2 separate regions of the Homo sapiens genome follow, and region 2 is linked to region 1. The links are contacts of gene promoters, found by promoter capture Hi-C in human tissues and cell types (Jung and others, 2019). All regions are on one chromosome and are shown on one strand. Each heading gives the region's core, a stretch centred on a gene start or on the middle of the fragment in contact. The rest is flanking DNA. Distances are from core to core; before and after follow the strand shown.

Region 1 (7,368 bases), core at 3,404-5,903:
TGGCAAAGGACATTCTCTTCCTGTCCTATGGCCCCTGTGAACACGGGCAGGGGAAGAAGGGCCAGTGATTGTCTCACCCCAAACTCCTCCCACCCACCCGTACCAAGGTTCCTCTTCTCTGACTCTGCAAACCTCTGGGAAGCTCTCAGGCCTCACAGAGAAGACTGGAGGGCCGGATCTGGTTCACTCTTTCCCTAGGGTCTGAAGGATCTGCGCCCTGTGTTCAAGGACGACGCTGAAACATTCTTTTCTGCGTGCCTGATCTGAGGCCTCACAACTCAGGTGAGCAAGACTGTGTCCCTTTCACATGGAGAAGCCGAGTTCCACGGAGGTTGAGTGAGGAGCCGGCATCACACAAGGACTCGGAGGGGCTCCTCGAGACTCGCGGGACAGAGACGGCAGCCCCAGGTGGGAAAGGCCCAGGCCAGGGACACGCTGGGCCTGGGGTGGGGGAAGGGGGGAGCCCTCGGGCGCCCCCACGAGGCCGGCGCGCTCCAGGTCCTGGACGGGATCGTCCCCTTGCGGGCCCAGTGCAGGGAGCGCGGGGAGCTGGCCGCCTTCTTCCTGCTTAGGTTTTGGCGCCGCCGCTTCTTCTCCACCTCGTCCGCCCCGCGCTCCTCCCGCTGGCGGCGCCGCCGCCGCCGCTCCCGCGCTTCTCCCTGCGCCTCAAGCCCCTAGGGCAGGCGCTAGGCGTTCCGGATTGTCGCGCCCTCCGCCTGGTTCGGCAGGTCTGTCCGCGGCCCCTTCACGTTGGCCTCCAGCTCTCGTGCCTTCCGCTGGTCCCGGCCCCGGAGTTCAGCAGCGCCCGGACTTCCTCCCTTTCCGCTGCGCGAGGCTCCCCTTCAGCTCCTGCCTGTTCCTCCTCTTTGCGCCTTGCTGGCCGGCTCGTGCTCATTCACCTCCACCTTGTGGACGACCAGCCCCGACGGCTCCTGCGGCTCCTTGCAGGCCACCTCTGGGTGGGCTTGATCGCCGCCCCGGCCCTCGGCCCTCTCGGCCTTGGCCTTTGCTCCCTTCCCTTTTTGCCGCAGCTCTTTCGCTTCCTCTTCCGGTCCCGCTCCTTCTCTCGTCGCCTTTTCTCCAAAGCGCTTGGCCTCAGCTCCTTAGCATTGTCCTGGCCCCGGGCCTCCTGTATTTCCTCCTGCAGTCGCAGTGGTTTTAATGTATGGGGGAAAGAGAACCATTGTACAGGCCTTTGATGAGGTCGCTATCTTCTAGTGAGCGTTTGCCCTGGGACGTGACTTTCGAAAGTGCTTCTCAGCATCCATTCCCCCCTCCCCTCCACTTAGGTCTGAGACAGGAATGCTAGAAGGGTTGGAGTTGAATGTTTCTCTTACCTCACTTCAGTTAGGCCCTTGTAATTTCCCTTAAGGGAAGGAGGACCAGAATGCTCTGGACTTATATCACAATGGTTATTTTTCTCCACCTTCTGCCAGGAGCATGAAGAGACTATTCTCCAGTATTCACAGTGAGAACTTGGTGGGCATCCTGGAGGTAAAACACAAAAGTGTGAAGACCTTCTGAGACTGAGCACCCAAGAGTTTTAAACTGTCAAGTTTGTCTACACTGAGTCTCAACAATTCATGAATTATTACATGTTTGTATGTTGCTAAAAATACTGGCTTCATCTGTGGTCCTCTGAACCTGGGCTTTAGTTTCTAGAATTGAGAATAAATTGTGATTATCTGTCTTTAACTGTCTGTCTCTTTTCAGGACAGCACTTTGCTGTGACTTCAATTCTGTCATGGATCTGAGAAGATTTATTTTCAGTTTGTTTAGTTTTCTCATTGATGAGAAGATGGGAGGGATTATCCCAAACTTTACTTGTTGAAGTGAAAACCAGAAGTTATGCTAAATGTTAAAGTAGATAATAAGCAAAAAAAAAAAAAAAAAAAAAATTAGCTTGGATATAGAACCCTTCTTCAGAGAAGATCAGGAAAGGAAGAACATTTATTTCTTTCTCTGCAAAAATATAAGTTTTGTTGTTAGCAAGGAAACAGTCAATTATCAAACTTTAGAATCTTGACATAAAAGTGAGTTAGCACATGTGAGAATCTGTAAACTAGACATAACTAACTCTAATGCTTTTCTTTAAAGACACAAACAACATGCTTTCTACGTGTATAAGTCACAGTGAAGAAGGAGCTTTTCTTTATGGTATCACTGTTGTTGCCCAGCCCATCTCTGTATCTCTTACTTGTATGGTGAGGAAGTACTCAGTGACAGCTCAGGTATTCCCCAATTCTGCTCTTCTTCCACATAAAAAACTTTGATGAAGTCAAATTTTGGTTTGAAGGTCTTGATGACCACCCTGTGGGAGGCTGTAGGGTATTCTCAAGCTCTCTGACATCTCACACTCCCAGCCTCAGGTGTTTCTTCCCTTGGACACCAGGATCCTTGACTCTGGTCTTACTCTCCCTTAGTCACAAGTCTCCTCATCTCATAGTTTCCCATGACGGTTCTTGCTGGACATCCTCAAGGATCTCTGTCAAACTGACAATAATTAGAGGCAATCTCAGAATTACACATGTGCCAATCTGGATTGCAACATTTTAATTCCAGGTGTCAGGTTTCCAACAATCAAGGAGAAAAATGACCATAATCCATTGACAATTCCTCTCCCACACTCAGTCAAAAATGGTCCAGATCACAGTCCTACATGCTGGAATTATTTCCTCTGCTTCTCTCTCACCCCACCTTGGCCAAAGATTTTCTAGCAAGATCTGAATTTTAATCCATCTCTCTTCGCCTGTGTGTCCCGACTAATTTGGCAGAAGGAATTCTTTCTTAAAACCTTGCCATTTAATTCACAAATGGAAATGTGAAGGGTCAATAGGTATGTGAAGAACCTATTCACCCGTATTCACTGGGAATCAGAGAAGTGAAAATGAAAAGAACACTGAGCTATCATCTTAGATACACAAAACTGTCAAACATTTGAAGGTGGCTAACACCAAATGTCAATCAGGATATGAGGAAAGTAGGAATTCTTCTATACAAGAGGACAGAAATCTGGCAGTGCCAAAAGAAAAAGTACATCTATGATCTGCCCCTCCGCAGATCCCATTCCTAATACATATATCCCAGCGAGTTCTGCTAATCTGCAGAGGATGTCTAGAAACGCATTCATCACATCAGTGTTTATAATAACCAGGAGTAGGAGGCAATCAAATGTCCTTCACAAGTGGAACTGGTAAGTTAAAGAGACTTAGGTTGGGTTTCTCTAAAACCAGGCCACAAGACAAAGATTTGTATTCCAGTGGCTTATTTTGATTTAGGAGATGATTTAAGGAATCACCAGTGCGGGAGTATAACAGTGAACCCAAGACACCTTGAGATCAATAAAAAGGTGCATTGTTGGCAGGCTGCCTGCAAAGAAAGGGAGCATAATCCCAGTAGACAACACCAGGAGGCAGTTTTGTACATGCCTAAGAGTAATCCCACCTTAGCATGTAGAACACAAGGATATTTAGTCTCCAGTTCCCATCATGTGGGCTGAGTGGTGGTCCCAGGTGCTTTAATTTGTAGTCCATCTGCCCAAGCACAGGCCAAAAGAAAGCCTTCCCACAGAGTCCCGAGTTCATGTGGCAGCATGCCAGAGGTATGTACTGGAACAGTAGGTGCTAAAGGCAACAATTACATCATGAAAACTGCACATCTCACTCATATGTGGAATCTAAAAGTAATTTAGCTCATAGAAGTTAAGAGTAGAATAGTTAGAGTAGTAGAAAGTTAAGAGTTGTTACTGGAGAGAAAAGAGGGTATGGAAGCTAGAAAAAAAGCTAGAAGGAAGGATTTTGAATGTTCTCATGACAAAGAGATGATAAATGTTTGAGGTGACAGACATGCTAATTACCATGATTTGATCTTTACACAATGTCTGCATGTATCAGAACATCACACACTACCAAATAAATATATACAATTGTTATGTGTCAAAAAACATTATATACAATGTTTATATTTTATATTAATATTAATGTAAATAAAAATTTACACAAATCTTTTCATTAAATATGGTGTGGATAATTATATTATCTGATGATACCCATGCCACAGGCTAGGAGAAATAAAAATTTACATTAATGTTAATGTCAAAAAAGCAGAAACAAAGCCATATGATACATGTGACACTTATACCACATGCATAGAGTTATTTCAGACACATTGTGTGTTACCTTTGGGTAGAGAAGTGAATGAGAGTGAGGATGAGAGATGAAAAGAGGCAGAAGAAAAAGAGAGGCCTTATAGGAAGTGATGAAAGTGTGCCATAAACTGAGAGTATGACTAAAACCTTTCATCTTCCTCTTCTGCCGCTTCTAAGTTATTGGTTCTGCTGTTCCTTGACCTGTTTCAAGCTCTCACCTTCTATATCACACATGGGAAGTCTGGCATCAGACTTCCAGAGAGCAAGAACTAGGTGAAATACAAGGGCACAGCTCTCCTAGCCTGTGGCATGGGTATCATCAGATAATATAATTATCCACACCATTTTTAACAAAAAGATTTGCGTAAGAGATTCACAGAGGCAACCTGAGGCCCTGCAACTACATTTCCCAGAGATCCCTGAGGTGATCCTAACTAGACTCTGGTGTCAGGGTGATACGGAATTCCAGTGAGATCACTTCCCTTGCAGACTTTGGAAGGGAGAGCACTTTATTACAGACCTTGGAAGCAAGAGGATTGCATTCAGCCTAGTTCCTGGTTGCTGGCCAAAGTAAGTAGAACTTTGTAAGTAATTTGCAGTGTACTTTGAAAGTGGGGTATAAATTAAAAATAAAATCAAGTCCCCCTACTGACTGAATGGATCCCCTCTTGTCCTAGGCGACCCCAGAGAAACCTGGAAAACTAAATTCCAGGCCATAATGGAAAGGGAGGTCAGACACGCCTCATTATACACACTCCCTTTTGGAGTTCAGGCACAACTGACCAGCATTAACATTGAAACAGTGATCATAAGACTGTCAAAATGGACTGTTTGTGGGAATAAGATACCAAATTCCAATCTGACTCTGGTTTAGCATCACATGACAATAGCAGACCCTGAAGGAAATCAATATATTTAATCCCCAAAATATATTTCTTTGACACATATTGAAATGGTCTTGCAAAACCATCTTTTATGGGGAAATTTGCTGGTTTCTGGCTCTGCTCTGATTGAGGAGAGAATAAATGAGAGTCTGACACCTTAAAAATCTGAAAAGAGATATTTACCATCTGTTTTCTCTAAGGCTGCTAGCTGGAGGTTTCATCTACATGACATAAACCATGGTTCCCATAAGCCCTTTTAACTCAAGCATTTAATTGTACTGACCGCAAGTCTTTAGACAAAACTTAACTCTTCAACAAATTGCCAATCACAAAATCTTTGAATCCACCTTTGTCCTGTAAGCTCTCCTACTTCAATATGTCTGATTTTCAGGCAGAGCCAATGTATACCTTATGTGGGGGCCATAGGCTGTTGGCCCCCTAAAGCTTCACTAAAAGTCACTGTCATGTGACAGGTTGATTAATAGGGGAAAGGGAGTACAAATTTATTTAATGTATATACATGGTCTATTAGCCAGGACCCTTTAGAGGGCCAGAACTAATAGGATAGATGTATACATAAAGGGGAGTTTATTAAGGAGTAGTGAGTCACATGATCACAAGGTGACGTCCCACAGTAGGCCGTCTGCAAGCTGAGGAGCAAGGAAGCCAGTCCGAGTCCCAAAACCTCAAAAGTAGGGAAGCCGACAGTGCAGCCTTCAGTCTGTGGTCAAAGGTCCAGGAGTCCAAAGGCTGAAGAACTTGGAGTTTGATGTTTGAGGGCAGGAAGCATCCAGCACAGGAGAAAGATGTAGGCTGGGAGACTAAGCCAGTCTAGTCTTTCCACATTCTTCTGCCTACTTTCATTCTGGCTGTGCTGGCAGCTGATTAGATGGTGCCCACCCGGATTGAGGGTGGGCCTCCCTTTCTCAGTCCACTGATTCAAATGTTAATTTCCTTTGGCAACACCCTCACAGACACACCCAGGAACAATACTTTGAATCCTTCAATCCAATCAAGTTGACACTCAATATTAACCACCACACTTGGGAAACTTGAGAATGAAGACCCAACTTCCCAGTAAGTTACAGAAACTCATGTATTATTCCGAGGCCACAGTAAAGAGTGGAGACTCAAAGCATGGCCAGAAACAGGTAAATTAGTTTTAGTGGCAACACAGGTTAAGAGAGAGAGGAAGGAAGAAGCTCGGCTAGCAAAGGTGGCCTTGTTATGTAGACGAACCTTTTCTCAGAAGCAAAAGATGGTAAATGTTTCTATCCAGATCTTTAAAGGTGTCAGACTCTCAATCGCTCTGGATCCTGGGAAAGGCTTAGAAACAGGAGAGGGTATGGCTGCATTAATGGACATTGTCCACAGACGCAAATTTTCCTCAGTTAAGACAGTTTTGCAATGCCACTTCTGCTTGTTGGCCAGTGGAAACCATTTTTAAATATGTCAAAGAAATATATTTGAGGGTAAAATATTTTGATTTTCTTCAGTCCCCACTTTGAAATTTAAAACAAGTTTCACATACTAAAAGCCAAGGTAATAGCTTTGGGGAGATTTAAGTTAGAGGTGTTTAGATAGAGACAGTCATAGCAGTGGAAAAACACATTTGGGATAAATATAAATGAGCAAATTTAAATATATCATTCCATATTTTCTTTAGGCAGTCCCTTGGTTTTGAGGTGAGATCAGTTCAGTTAAATATCTACGTCCCATTCCAGGAGGTGGGACTGCAAATGGTTTAGGCCTTTAGACGTAATGTAGGCAATCAGATTTCTAGTAGGAGGCATTTCTGTAGAAACAGAAAAAAATAAATAAATAAATGTTACTATCTGGAGTAGTCTATATATCTAGAAAAGCTAGTCTATAGCTTTTTCTCTGAGGCGTCTTCATATTGCAGTGGCAATGTCCCAGATTTCCCTGGAAGTTCAAACCAGGTGTTCCACTGAACTTTCTGAGAAGGCCTCACATCAGCAGATATGCATGAAGGTTGTTTATAAGTTACTGTTATTTTCTCCTGATACCTTCAGTTTGCAAGACTTTAAGAAAACCCCAGTTTTAATTTCTAGTGAATTCAAGTAAGAAAAATGGGAGAAAACGTTGAAAATGTTACTTTGCAGACTTGTAGCCAGAAAAAAATTCAGGATTTGGTCTAACTTGTAAAAAATAATAAAAACTGAAAAAACAATGGGCAAGGCTAGAAGATACTAACAGATACACTATAGTTTTTGAAACATAGTATTTCTGCTTCCAGTTCTTCAATTTTATGAAAGACATAGTTTCATGCACATCCGTGTGAAGAGACCACCAAACAGACTCTGTGTGAGCAACATG
Region 2 (7,788 bases), core at 2,412-4,911, 290 kb after region 1:
ATCAACATGAACTTTTACAGATTTATGTTTTAAACCATAAGTTAAAAATTAGTACTAGAATAATTTATATTTGACAAATATTTAGACTCAGAGGAGGACTGTGGAAATGTCTGGGAGAACTGAGGCTTAAATCAACATTTTCTAATACTGCACATTCCAAATTCTGGAGTACAGTTGGCCCTCCATATCCATGGGTTTTGAAACCCCAAGGGTACCCGAATACCCGGGGCTGATTGTATTCTACTTTTAGGAAATTGTTTCTAAATTAGAAATCAATTAGAATCTAATTGATTCTAAAATGTTACTTCTGTCAAAGGCAGAGCAACCAGCTGGATCTGACAGCAGGAAGGTCTGCACTGCCCCCTCATGGCCAGAAGCCTTGCTAGTAACTCTTCCAATAACAGACACCCAATGAAGAGCTGAGCTCAGTCAGACTTCATTAATTTTAATAATGAATGCCGGTCTCCACGAAACACATGTTCTTCCAAAACATATTCAGATTTGCATCCTGCCCATATTATGTGCTTCAGAGGTTGATACAAACATTATTATCGAGAAAAAGACAAAGCCACACTCTCTCTAGAGGAAATGGTAAGATTTAAACACAGAATAAAGAAAAAAAGTCAACACGGAGAAGGGGGTTTTAAAGAAAATAACATCTATAAGCTGAATTTTAGTAGGTTAAATAATATTCTTCAGACGAGGTCAATATGAACCATAAAGTACTGGAAAATTCAATTTTCTTAATTTAAAATATTTAGACCAAGAAAAGCATTTAAGATATCTCACTAAAATTAAAAGCAAAACTTCTAATCCTTTCCACAGTCCTTTAACACTTTTTTTCAAATGAATATGAATAAATCAGAGAACAAGTGAGGACTACAGATAATTAATATTTGAATAAACCATTATGTTTTAATGGCCAAGAAAACAAGCTGGAAACATCAAAGATGAAAGTTTCAAAGAATACAAAACATGTAATTCCAACTCTGACAAGGAGAAGCAATTATTACACCTATTCTAGAAAGAGCCAGAGTTCTAGAAAGATAACATTAAATCCCAGGAGCGAACCACGAGTTAATGGTATCTTATTTTTTACAGGTTGGGAAGATGACATGAGAGGGTGGAGAGAGGTGGCAATGGGGATCTTCTAATCATCAAATTAGACATCCTGCATTTTGGATGAAAGAGTCAGATAATCAAAAATGCTGTTTACATGATTAGCAAGAAGAAATACCAGCTGGGTGCAGTAGCTCGTGCCTATCATCCCAATACTTTGGGAGGCAGAGGTGGAAGGACTGCTTGAGCCCAGGAGTTGGAGACCAACCTGGGCAACATACTGAGACATTGTTTCTGTTTCAAAAAAAAAAAAAAAAAAAAAAGAAGAGGAGGAAGAAGAAACACTGATTTAAGGGCTAAAAAATACTACTAGATACAAGTAAGATCAATGAAAATTCTGATTAAAATTGGAGGAAAACGTGTAACTGTGGATAAAAATGGGAGAAGTGATGCTTAAATCAACATTTTACACATGTCTATTATAGTATAATTAAGTTCAGTAATTTAGGGTACAAGCCTGTCATATTATTCAGTTTATTTCATTTAGGGAATATAAATGGCTAGTCAATGATTAGGGTCACTCTGATAGAATATTCTATTCTACTGATTTTCTCTTAGCTCTGGTGTTCAATTTTAAGCCACTAGATAATCCTAAAAATATCTCTTGTGAGATATTGGGAGCTTGGCTATATCCTTGAACACATATTCTGTAACTTAGGGACCACATATGCCTCAAAAAAATACTAATCATCTCTTAAAAACCGACTATAATCTTTAAGGTATCATGTGATGGCCTACTGACTACAGTTCTACCAGTGGCCTTTTATACTGTTAACTCCTGCGGCGTTTGCAATATTCAAAAAAAAAAAAAAAAAGTGCTTGGCCTTCTCTTCCACAGATACATATCAAGTAAAAGTACCTGTACTGTGTGACAAACACAGAGGACAGTAGAGAATCTTTTCATGTGGTATCTATGCTGGATTCCAACATTACACTACACAACCATAATTCTGGGTGAACCCACTAATATTACAATGCCTAAATTATCATGAGGATAGGTAGTAGGACTACAACAGAGTTAAGGATGATGAGCTCTTAATTTCCCATAGCCTCTGACTGCATACCATGGGTATACTCCACATTAAAACATCCAAAACAAAATCCAGAGACGTCTCTTAGTGCTCTTATAGAAGCCAATTTTATAGCCATGTTGAGAATTACATACATGCTCACATACATTTATTTAAGAATATGATAAACCATTCTGGTCTATTTCAGCAGGAGACCGCAGTCCTGACACCACAGGTGGTCTCATAACACTTTCAGTAGAAGCCAACACATCCCTATACAGGTCACATTAAAGGACTTTGAAGACACGTTTCTCTCTAAAGATAAAGCTTTTTAAAAAAACAGTGAGGAGTAAAAAGCCAGATTTGAAGACTTACTGGAGCCAGGCAATTTGCTAATGACGGAGGGGGTCAGACTCCACTATGTCATAATGTAAGGGGGTGAATAGGAAGCCAACATATTTCTTAAAGTCACACTAAGGTATTTTGCCACCTGTCCCCTGCCATATTTTGAGGGGAACCTGTTAATGCCAAAGTCTTTCAATAATGTTATGTCACACAGGGATGGGGAGGTAGCAGAGGAGGAGGGCAGTGGGGAGTGGTGGGAGGGTGAAGAAAGCCTGATGTCACTCTCAGTGGGTCTGGATATAACCCCGAGAAGGCTGAAATGACACTGAGATCCACCTCCTGACGCTCTCTCTGCACATTATCAAGCCCATGAATCTCCGTTATAATCATCTCCATCTCCAGACCTGGAGTTCTGTGATCCTATGATTCTATTATTCCATTTTTAAACCTGTGGAGTGGGAGTGTTTCTGAGTACCCTGCTCACACAGATGGTGGTGGGAAGAATCTCAAGAATATGTTGCATGTAGTAAATGCCCACTTCACTACGTAATCACTCCCTTCACATTTCACACGAACAAAGATTATATTATCTTCAAGACAGCTGCAAAAACACGAGTGGTTTCATGGCAGCATAGCATCAGCACATATATGTGTAAGGAACATGAAAGAAGAAATTTCTCTTCATTACATATGCCTGGGGCTAACCACTCTAAACCTGACATGAATGTAGTATAATAGGACCAGGTCATACTTGTACATCAGCTCCACAGACTGGGGGCTGGGGGAAGACCAGGGGAGGAAAGGAAAAAGGAACTAACTGAAAGATAAAATCATACACAATATCTCTGTATTCCTGATGTTCTAAAAATACTCCGCACTGAAAAATCATTTGTCAAGGCAACCTTTCTGAGACCAAAAACAAGATCGATGTGCCAAACAACAGTTTCCCACAGTCATCTCATTTTGAGCACGGCTTTCGCCCATCTCTTCCACAAACTGGCTCTTTACAAAACTGACCCATGCCACAGCATCTTTGTATCTGGAGTTCAGGTCCCATCCGTTTCACCTGATCGCACCTGATTCTCTTAGAACCATTTTATACTCCTCGTTACTTTCTCAGTCTATCACTGCACATTAGACACTGCCAAAGACTATCCAATTCTGTTGCCCTGCCACACAGCTGTCAATAAGGTTCAATGTGGTATTTCTTTACCTTGTTCTCCTTAGCAGAAAACTCTGAGGAGTTGGAAATTTTCATGGACTTTGACCTGTGAGACTGCCGCCGGATAGAATCCTCCCGGGAGTATTTCACGGAACCTGAGGTCCTCACCCGTACCTTGCTGGCACTCTGGACACTATTCACGCCAATCATTTTCGAAGGTCAACTAAGGAAGGGGTTTAGAGAAATAAAAAGGCACTTTCCAACCGTTCCAAGGCTCTCACGCTGGAGGAACTCTGCGGGGTTGTGCCTGAGCAGCTCCTGAGCGCCGTGATCCGCGTTAGCTTAAGAAGCACCAGGCTGCCTCCCCCAGCATCTTCAACTACCCTGTTTGCAGCGAGTCTGATTGTTCCAGGCACAGCTCACGTCACTGGCTGCAAAGAGGAAAAAAATGCAATCCACCCCTGCTACTCGTCTCTCTTTTCCACACACACACACACACACACACACACACACACACACACACACACACCCCATCATATTCACACACTGGAACGAATGGCAATTGGCCAGGCAAGCAATTCATTAACATTCCAAAAAGCAACACTATTTCTCTTGTGATATTTGTGAAGTAAGCTCATTAATGTCAACAACCAAATAGAGATACCACAAATAAAAGTCTCAAGTAATCTCCAAGGCACCATGTGGGGTGGGAACGTAGCTGAATTTCCACAAGGAAGAAAAAAAATATGGATGGACGTCAAAAGGCTCAATTAATTACAGGCTAGTGAAACGATGCGAGACACAAAGGCATCTCAATGATCAATAATTTTCCTTTCTTTCCCGTTTCAGGCCACACACTGTTTGACAGCAATTCAAATTATGTTGCCATTCTGAAGAATTAAATGTTTCTTATGACCTTAGACTACGACAGCCAGATATTTCAAGAGGAATTATGTCAGTGTGTACGGCAAATCCAGAATAAAGATGTTCTGTTACCTCTCTAGGAGACTGAGAAAATGACTGGGGGGTTAGCACAGGTTAACTTTCAATATGGCACAGAGTGAGAGCAATAAAGCTAACTCCGGGCAACAAGCAGCAAGCAGCTTTTCCAAAAGCCATCAATGTTCTGTCAGTGTACACAGCAATGTGCAAGCCTCTGAGTACGAATCACAAACTGGAGATTACTAGAAAACAAGACCATTTTAGCTCCTAACATATGAAGTGAGTTTTGAGCATACTACTCAGGATTGCGATGTCTCACTATCTGGCATCCCAGGGACAGAGGCTCAGCCACATAAGCGTGTTCTCCAGATAAAGGAGGCTTTCGTGTTAATATAAATAACAAAACTTAAACATTGTTTACAAAGACCACTCTGGGAAAAACGTCAGCCTCAATCCATCCCACCCCTCAGATTTAAACTTTTCCTTTACAACTCAAGAATGTATACACTTTTTTTTACAATGTACCAATGTTCAAATTTTGCAACGCACTGGTGTTCTTGAGCATTATTTGAGATAATTAATTTTTTAAAAAATGGTTTAAAGTAATTCTTAAACTTTAATTACTAAAGTTATGTTTTAATGTCAGGTAACTGTTTCCCTCTACTGTCAACAGGCCCAGCAGAGGGTGATGTTTGACCCTTGGGTTTTGTTGCATCCTCATGACAGGGGCTTTCTTCCTATATCCTTTACATTTTTTTTTTTTAACTTTTCATCTCCTATTTTTAAAGCACTTAGTGCTTCTATTGTGCTATAAAGAAGACGAAGACATTAATATTGGTAAAATGTTACCATCTAAAATAATAATAGATTATTTTTGGAATAGGTTTTGGAAGATCTTGGGGACTCTCCTGTCCTTTGAGGTACATTTTCCTCTCTTCTTAGGAAACTGAAGCTACCAAATAACTGTTTCTCAGAATTAAGAAAAATTCTGTAAAGTTACTATTTTACAAAGCATATTCCAAAGACATAAAAAGTGGTGTACTATAGCAGTAAAATAAAATCGATCATTTGGAATAGACTTAGTTCTAACTTAAGCAGACGACGAGTCTACAGGTAAAGATCTCCAGTTAACAAAAGTAAGCTTGAGGTGGAACCCAGTAAGAAACTAATACCATAATAAAGATAAAAATTCAAAATGTCCCGTGTAAAAGACATGAGCGCCTGCCTCTGTGTGGGGATAAAGACAGTGCACGGGCTTAAAAGAAACATGCCCTTTGGATATTTGTCAGTCATCATAATGAGGAGTTATAAACTATCTCCTGATGAACTTTCTTTTCTCCACCAAAATGGTTAGATTAAAAAACAAACAAACAAACAACAACAACAACAACAAAAACTAAAACCATATGGTAGGATGTACAGAAATGGAATCTGATACATGTCATTTCTGGGAGGTTTAGCAGAAGGACGCCATCTTTACCCAAAGACTGCCCAATTGACGTTACTCCTGTACTGTCTCCACTAATAACCACTTTCATCGATCTGTTTAACACCTAATACCTTACAGAAGCCACTTGTTCTCTTGTTTTCACTCTCAACATGACAATTCTGCGAAGTGGGTTGAGGTAATATTGCAATCCCCACTTTCCTGATGAGGACGCTATCACAGAGCCAGCATGCAGATTCTCGCATGAAGTATACCAGGAACCACGCTGTGTCCCTCACACTATAGCTGTCTGCATTGCCCTGTCCTTTTTAAACCTGCCATGAGCTTTTCTGCAAGTCAGGGAGAGAAAGTTTTCTTCTGCTCCTGCCTTTTACTCTCTGTTGCAGAACACGTATTTCTACGTGGACAGAGTGAAGAGAACTCCTACAATGCTGCTAGCAGTCTCACAGCAGATGATCCCTGCGACATATCTGAGTATGTCTCAAGAGGTACCTGAAAAAGCTGTACAGACCTCAGCATCCAGGGGCCCTTGATGCTCAGGCCTCATCCTACTGACCTAAACTTAATCCCAACCGCTTCTCACTCTTCTTATCTTTGTCAGTCAGGCCTGACTCTTCATTCCAGGTGAGTGCGTGGCACTTTAGCTTCCACTCAGCCCATGCATGGAAGGCAAGCTTGCCTCCTTTCTGAAGCTTTCCCGAATGACCCTCCATCTGCTGTCATCCTGTCTGGAACTCTGTTGCCCCATCCTGATTCACTACTAAGCTGGCTTCTCCTCATTCAGCAGTCAGCTCAGTATCTTTTTCCAAAAGGACCTTCTGTGACCATCCTTCCTTAAACAGCAGCCCAGCTCCACCCTAGTCATTCATTTGCCACCAAAACCCCTACTTCTGTGACTTCAGGGCACTCATAGCTGTTTGAAATTACCTGCATCTCAGAGGCCAAAACAGAACCTGGTGAAGAGCCGGAGCTCAATGACCAGCTGTCAAATAAAGGAACTACTTTAAATATACAAGTTTCCCTTCTCTATCGGCTCTCACGTCATTCAACTTTCTTTTAAAGAAAATTCAGGATGGGTGCAGTGGCTCACTCCTGTAATCCCAGCACTTTGGGAGGCCAAGGCGGGCGGATCACATGAGTCCAAGAGTTCAAGACCAACCTGGGCAAAACAGTGAAAAACCCATCTCTACAAATAATACAAAAAATTAGCCGGGCATGATGATGAGCACCTGTGGTCCTGACTACTTGAGAGGCTGGGGTGGGAGGATCACCTGAGCCCAGGAGGTTGAGGTTGCAGTGAGCTGTGATCATACAACTGCACTCCAGCTTGGGAGACACAGTGAGATCCTGTCTCAAAAAAAGAAAATTTAGCAGTTTTTTTTTTTTCTGAAAAAATGAATACAATAAATACGAAATGATTTCCCCCCTAACTATACAAAAAAGTATGAAGTGAAATTTGTTTCCTTCCCGTACCATTTTCCTGTTCAGTCCCTCTGCCCGAAACAAGAACTGTTCCCAGTTTCCTATGCATCCTTCCAGAGATAATAAGCCATCCACGTGTGTGTGTCCACGTGCGTGTGTGTGTTTGGGTTTGTGTGTGTGCGCTTGCCCATCCCTTTTCTTCTCATGGACTATAAATGGAAGCATGATATATATTTTTGCTATTTTTTTTTAAGATGGAGTCTTGCTCCATCGCCCAGGCTGGAGTACAGTGGCATGATCTTGGCTGACTGTAACCTCCGCCTCCCGGGTTCAAGTAATTC

What was found. The method cuts DNA at HindIII sites, captures the fragments that hold promoters and counts their contacts. A contact is called where the count stands out against the background at its distance.
Region 2: a contact is called between a fragment that was not itself captured here and the fragment with the promoter of NAT2 in region 1, in 1 of the 25 tissues and cell types used here (H1 embryonic stem cells).

The regions. Positions count from the first base shown.
Region 1 is chr8:18,386,629-18,393,996 of GRCh38, forward strand. It overlaps NAT2 (N-acetyltransferase 2), which reads left to right and starts at 4,654. Exons shown (of 2, transcript NM_000015.3): 1 at 4,654-4,717. The HindIII fragment of the contact is 11,595 bases long and covers 1-7,030 here.
Region 2 is chr8:18,680,087-18,687,874 of GRCh38, forward strand. The region is part of intron 9 of PSD3 (pleckstrin and Sec7 domain containing 3); the gene reads right to left. Among named protein-coding and RNA genes, the nearest start is that of PSD3-AS1, 37 kb to the right of the region's middle. The HindIII fragment of the contact is 5,096 bases long and covers 1,114-6,209 here.